Linked DNA regions of Homo sapiens: region 2 is linked to region 1. The links are contacts of gene promoters, found by promoter capture Hi-C in blood cells and fetal thymus (Javierre and others, 2016). All regions are on one chromosome and are shown on one strand. The core of a region is centred on a gene start or on the middle of the fragment in contact, and the rest is flanking DNA. Distances in the headings are between cores, read along the strand shown.

Region 1 (3,372 bases), core at 265-2,764:
TTTATTACAACTTCTATGGTGTGACACAGTATCAGGGAAAACCCAAATTTCCCACAGTAGCACTCCAATAGCAGAGCTATTATTTTGCTTCTCATTTCTCTCATTTTGGACGCTCCTGTTTTACCGTAAATATTCAAGTGAATTCTGCGGCTTATGATTTAAGCACTCTGTTTCTATAGAACATGGTAGCATAAGTTACTATTAGGAAAAGGATCTCACCATCTTTATCCTGTGGTCTCAAGCAGCCCTGCACACTTGCAAATCCCTAGAATACTGAGTCTACTTTTATATTTTTGCTTTTTCCTGTTTATTTAGGTGTTATTTAAATACATTAAAATTCACCCATTTTAACTGTACAGTTTAACTTTTCTTATGTATACAAGGTGTAACTACTAGCATGATCAAAATGTAAGATGGTTCCTTTACCTTCAAAAGCTTTTCCATCCCCTTTTGTCCGAGTTCAGTTATGAGACACTGGATTGGGTTTCACAGCCTTTTCTAGCATTGACTGGGGTGATTTCAGTAAAGTCACTTTACCTCTCTAGATGTGTTTCTGCTGTTGTTAAATGGGGAATGCTGGAACAGATTTGTTTGCGGGGACTCTTCCAATACTTTCAGAAAATGCGAGAATAGGGTGAGGGTGGGAATCTCAGACTTGTGGGCCCCATGATTGATATAACACACACAGGCGGCAGACCCTAATGGGTAAAAGCATGTGGTTGCATCAGTTAAGGTTTTTCTCTCTTCTCTTGCTAGCGTGTTATCTTTTCTTTTCTTTTCTTCTTTTTTTTTTTTTTCGAGATGGAGTCTAGCTTTTGTCGCCCAGGCTGGAGTAGGCTGGAGTGCAGTGGAGTGATCTCGGCTCATTGCAACCTCCACCTCCCGGGTTCCAGCGATTCTCCTGCCTCACCTCCTGAGTAGCTGGGATTACAGGCGCCCGCTACCACGCCCGGCTGATTTTTGTACTTTTAGTAGAGACGGGGTTTCACCATGTTTGGCCATGCTGGTCTCGAACTCCTGACCTCAGGTGATCCGCCCATCTCGGCCTCCCAAAGTGTTGAGATTACAGGCGTGAGCCACCGCGCCCGGCCGCTAGCGTGTTATCTTTTCTAAGCATCAGTTTCCTTATCTGCAACACCAGGCTTATTAACAAGACCTATCTGTACACTGTTGTGGTGATGAAGTGAGATGTTCAGGCACCCTTAAATGTTGGTTGATATTTTTATTGCAGTATACTGTAAAGTCACTGCATTCGACTATCTCCGCTACTACACATTTACGCAGACTGATTTCCATAACCAAAACACAAGCACAAAGCTCATGCCCCCGACTCACGCAACCCGGGAAGCCCAGCTGCCCACGTTCTAGGGCTCTGAGAACACTAGTGAACGAACTCCCGTGCTTTCAAAGAGCTGCGGTAGGGGGCAGAACCGGGAACCGGATGTTCTAAGCCTGTCGTACGAGCGCGACGTAAAGCGGATCTGCTTTATGGCACCTTGCTTTCGCCGTAAAGCGCAGTCAGCGAGCCCACGTGCTTGTGTTGACTGGACAACTTCCTGGTGGAAAACCGCGACTCTTGCAAGTGGGCAAACTTGACGTTTTCGCTATGGGCAAACGCGGGAGCCGGAGCCAGAGCCAGCTACTCAACACCCTAACTAAAAAGCAGAAGAAACATCTTCGAGATTTCGGCGAGGAGCATCCCTTCTATGACAGGTCTGAAGGGGCGTGGCAGGGCTCCCCAGTCGCCAGAGATGTATCCTCGAGTTTGGTCCTCTGGTCTCCCAGATAGTGCTGCTCCGGCCTTTTCCCACTATTCCCTGGCTCCCGCTGTGCTCGGCCGGGGAGATTCTGGCGCCATCCCGCCGGGAGATGGAGTGCTTCACGGGCCTTTTTGTTGAGCCTGTAATTTCCTGCTAAGAGGCACGCCCGTTGTGTGGGGGAGGATTTTTTTTTTTTTTTTAAGACGGTGTTTCGCTCTGTCGCCCAGGCTGGAGTGCAATGGCGCGATCTTGGCTCACTGCAACCTCTGTCTCCTCCCGGGTTCAAGCGATGCTCCTGCCTCAGCCTCCCGTGTAGCTGGGATTACAGGCGCCCGCCACCAAGCCCGGCTGATTTTTTGTATTTTTAGTAGAGATGGGGTTTCACCATGTTGGCCAGGCTGGTCTTGAACTCCTGACCTCAGGTGATCCACCCACCTCGGCCTCCCAAAGTGCTGGGATTACAGGCGTGAGCCACCGCGCCCAGCTATGGGGGCGGATTTTTGTGTGGTCAGAGATCTAGGAATTTTTTGTAGACACACATATATATATGTATATATATAATTTTTTTTTTTTAAGACAGAGTCTCGCTTTGTCGCCCAGGCTGGAGTGCAGTGGCGCGATCTCAGCTCACTGCAACCTCCGTCTCCCGGGCTTAAGCGATTCTCCTGCCTCAGCTTCCCGTGTAGCTGGGATTACAGGCGCCCGCCATCACACCCGATCAATTTTTTGTATTTTTAGTTGAGACGGGGTTTCACCATGTTAGCTAGGGTGGTCTCGAACTACTGACCTCGGGTGATCTGCCCGCCTTGGCCTCCCAAAGTGCTGGAATTACAGGCGTGAACCACCGCGCTTGGCCTGTTTTTATAATTATTTTTAACTTACATAAAATGATTGTACATATTTGTGGGATACAGTGTGATATTTTGATAACAATACATGTACCCAATGTGTAATGATCAAATCCGGGTAATTAGCATATTCATCATCTCAAACATCAATTCTTTGCGTTGGGAACATTGAAAATCCGCTCTTCTAGCCATTTGAAAATATACAATAAATTGTTAGTTATAGTCACATCATATGTTGTGTGTGTTTTTAAAGAATTTGTTGGGACATCATTGATCTTTGCAATTACGATAAGGAACTAAGTGTATTAGTAGTTGTGGTTTCTCTAGAAATGTCTAGGTGCAGTTATGATCTCAATGCTCATCCCACTACTTTGGGCTGCTTTGTCATCAGTTAGGGACATTCTTTTTTTCTTTTCTTTTCTTTTTTCTTTTTTTTGAGGCAGGGTCTCACTTCGTTGCCCAGGTTGGAATCCAGTGCTGCAATCCTGGCTCACTGCAGCCACCACCTCCTGGGCTCAAGCGGTCCTCCTGCCTCAGCCTTCCCAGTAGCCGAGACTACAGGTGCACAACACAACTCCGGGCTAATTTTTCTTATTTTTTTGTAGAGACAGGGTCTCCGTATGTTACCCAGGTTGGTCTCAAACTCCTGGGCTCAAGTGATTCTCCCACCTTGGCCTCCTAAAGTGCTGGGATTCCAGATATGAGCCACCGCTCCCAGCTTAGAGGGACATTCTAATTAAGAAATTTGCTAGAAAAACATGAAC
Region 2 (3,372 bases), core at 1-2,500, 130 kb before region 1:
AAACATACGTTCACACAAAAATTTTCATACCAATGTTCATTGCAGCACTGTCCATAATAGCAAAAAACAGGGGAAAATTCCAAATGTCTGTGAACTGGTGAATGGATCAACAAAATGTGGTACATCCATACAATGGAATATGATTTGTCAATAAATGACACATGTTACAATACGGAAGAATCTCAAAAACATGTTAAGTGAAAGAAGTCAGACAAAAGATTACACGTTGTGTAGTTCTACTAATATAAAATGTCCAGGGCAGGCAAGTCTATACATGGAAATAAAATTACTGGTTGCCTGGGGCTGGGGGTGGAAACAGGGAGTGACTGTAAATGGGCACAAGAAATCTTTTTGGGAGATGGAAATGTTCTAAATTAGATTGCAGTAATGATTTCTCAACTCTGCAAATTTATTCAAAATCATTGAATTGTACACTTAAAATGAGATAATTTGCTAGTATATAAATTGCACTGCAATAAAGCCGTTAAAAAATAATCATGTCAGTTTCAGCATGATGAATTTGAGATGTTTAGGAGGCCCTCAGAAGGAGAGGGTTTGGGTAAGCAGGTGGTTATACTACCTGAAGCTTAGGAGAAATTGCTGCACAGGAAATAGAGACTTTTAAGACTCATCCATCAACACAAAGGTTGTAATTATAACCATGAGAGAGAAGGGAATTACGCAGGGAATACAGACAAAAAATGAGAACCGAATCAAGGCCAACTCCAACATTCAAGGAATCCAGAAGAAAAGATAAGCCTATAAAGAAAACTGAGAAGCAGTGAGAGAAACAGAAAGAAAAGCCTGGTGACTATGAATTGACAGAAGCCAAGGGAGGAGGATATTTGGGGAGGTTAAAGTGGCAAGTGATACTTAATGAGAAGGATCAAAGAGAAAAAAAGCATGGTAGAAAAATCCAGCTGGTTATAGGGCAGCCCAATAACATTGCTGGGCATAGCTCCAGGGGCTGCAAGCCCTCAGGGTCAAGGCCATACCCAGCACAGCCTGGCAGGAAGAGTGAAGTGCTGATGGAGGGTGTGAAGCTGGATTGAAGAGCTGAAAGAGTGCAGAAGATTCAGAATTTTTTGCATAAGGCAATGAGGGGATACAAAGAGCCAGGGGATAGAGTTCTGGGATGGGGATGAAGAAGCCACAGAGGGCAAAGCCTTCATGACTTGAGAACAAATGGCCAGAACTACAGACTCCAACAGTGGGCATTCATGGCCCTCAAAGATGTGCCTCTGCTTGCCTCTCCAGGCTTCTTACTGTGTAACCCCACCTTGTAAAATTCAGTTATCCAGCCACATGGAACTGTTCATAGTTTCCCAAACATGACTTTCTCTTTCACACCTCTTTCTATTTTCCCACACAGCTTCCTGTGCAAAGAATGTTCTACAAACTAGCCCTCCCCTCTCCCCACACACTCCTGAACCCAACTCAATGCTCACTGTTATCATTCTTCATTTCCTGGAACATTCCTGCTCATATTTCAACATGGATCAAAATGAACAACTTCCTGGAAGCAGCTCCTGCTGGCCCGTCCCACATGTAGAATGGGCTACTCCCTTCATTATGCCCCTACTGTAGACTTCCATTAGCGCACTGGTAATGTCTTACACATTTCATTTATTTCCACGTCTTCTTCTTCTAGGGCATGGAGAGCATTTCAATGGTGTTTTTATTCATAGTACCTGACCAACAGTAAATACCTAACTAAATAAATGTTAGTAGATGATTCCTCCACCCAGCTACCATGTGGTATGTACCTCTTTTGCCTTTTTGGGCTGTTTGTGGCCAGGATGCTGGGCTCCACTTTGGTAAAGGTAGACCAGATGGCTATCAGTAGGCATGGTCCAGAATGTTTTGTCCACACCTGAGACCATTTCTCAGGTTCTTAAAGCCCACTGCCACTTCTAAGCTTTTCAAATTAAACACAGTTCACCCAGTTAAATCCAAATTTCAGATAAACAATGAATGATTAATGGTTTTGTTTTTTCCTTTTTTTTTTTTTTTTTTTTTTTTTTTTTTGAGATGAGGGTCTTGCTATGTTTCCCAAGCTGATCTCAAACTCCTAGCCACAAGTGATCCTCTCTTTGGCCTCCCCAGTGGCTGGGATTACAGCCAAGAGCCACCAAACCTGGCTTGAATCATGTTTTAGTGTAAGTATGTTCCTTTCAAGACATCTTTCCTTCAATAGTTTAGGAATATTTCTTTCAACAGTTTATCCCATCTTGATAGGTAGACAGCTTAGATAGAGGATAGGTAGATAAGATAGATAGATTAGATAGATAGATAGATAGATAGATAGATAGATAGATAGATAGATAGATAGGAAGGACAGACAGACAGGCATCCTTAAAATAACTATTTGTCATTTATCTGAAATTCAGATTTAACTGTATTTGTCATTTATCTGAAATTCAGATTTAACTGGGCATTCTGTATTTCTATTTGCTAAATCTGGCAACCCTATGTCCCACCAGGGGCAAGTGACTTCCTTCTAATGCTGACATCCCTGGAACCTTGAGATGCCCACCTGGCTGGGGCTGTGGTGTCACCCTAGCGTGCTTCCTGAAAGTTGGGCTGGCCAACCAAGAAAAAACACAAGATGGGCCAAAGCCCTGTGGTGGTCATGCTGAGGTCAGTCCTCTCAGCTGTGTGGGGCTCTCCCACTGCTCCCCATGCTGCCAATGTTTCAACAGACCTTCCATTGAATAACTTTGTTTAGTTCTTACATGGCCCCCTCTCTCTTCTATGCTCAGATGTGAATCCACAGGAGCTAGGCAAGAGAGAAAACCTGAAAAACTACAACTACAACATGCTTAGAACTGTCTACTTAGATCATGCCCTTAAAACATAAAAACAACAGAATTTTTTTGATTATAAAAAGAACTCTTTGCATCTCCATCTCCACTGGGGGCAGGGATCAGACCATGCTCGTGACCTCGTGAGGGTCTCTTCTTTCCTAGAAGGCCCTTGGCTCTCCCAGGCAAATAGATTCCAGGTATTCTACCCTCTCAGTCCCCTACCACAAGCTACACGTGCCAGGCAGTAACAGGAAAGCACACAGAGGGCAATTTATCCCATGCCTACTTCATTCTCCCAGATCCACGATTCCGTTAGCTAAAAAATAGAATAAATCTGTCCATTGAGATTGACATGAAGGATTGACAAATGAGAACTTCTCCCCTCGTTAGACACACACATGAGGGAGGAGAACAGGAGGAAGGGAAGGAGGAGGGAGTCTGTTACTGGACAAAATTGCATGAAATGATAGTTCTTTCTATAGACAGGAAAAGATCTTGGCAGCTGTGAGTTCTGAGGAACTGGGGTGAGAATGGGGGTGGGGGTGGCAAGAAAGGGAGAATCTTA

The links. The method cuts DNA at HindIII sites, captures the fragments that hold promoters and counts their contacts. A CHiCAGO score of 5 or more calls a contact.
Region 2: a contact is called between a fragment that was not itself captured here and the fragment with the promoter of UTP25 in region 1, in 5 of 17 cell types (neutrophils, non-activated CD4 T cells, activated CD4 T cells and 2 more). The highest score is 13.8, in neutrophils.

Annotation. Positions count from the first base shown.
Region 1 is chr1:209,826,458-209,829,829 of GRCh38, forward strand. UTP25 (UTP25 small subunit processome component) reads left to right here and starts at 1,515. Exons shown (of 12, transcript NM_014388.7): 1 at 1,515-1,713. The coding sequence starts at 1,607. RefSeq lists an enhancer at 1,555-1,604. The HindIII fragment of the contact is 3,327 bases long and covers 434-3,372 here.
Region 2 is chr1:209,695,887-209,699,258 of GRCh38, forward strand. The region is part of intron 1 of HSD11B1-AS1 (HSD11B1 antisense RNA 1); the gene reads right to left. It also overlaps a transcript of HSD11B1 not described here. Among named protein-coding and RNA genes, the nearest start is that of HSD11B1, 7.3 kb to the right of the region's middle. The HindIII fragment of the contact is 1,332 bases long and covers 585-1,916 here.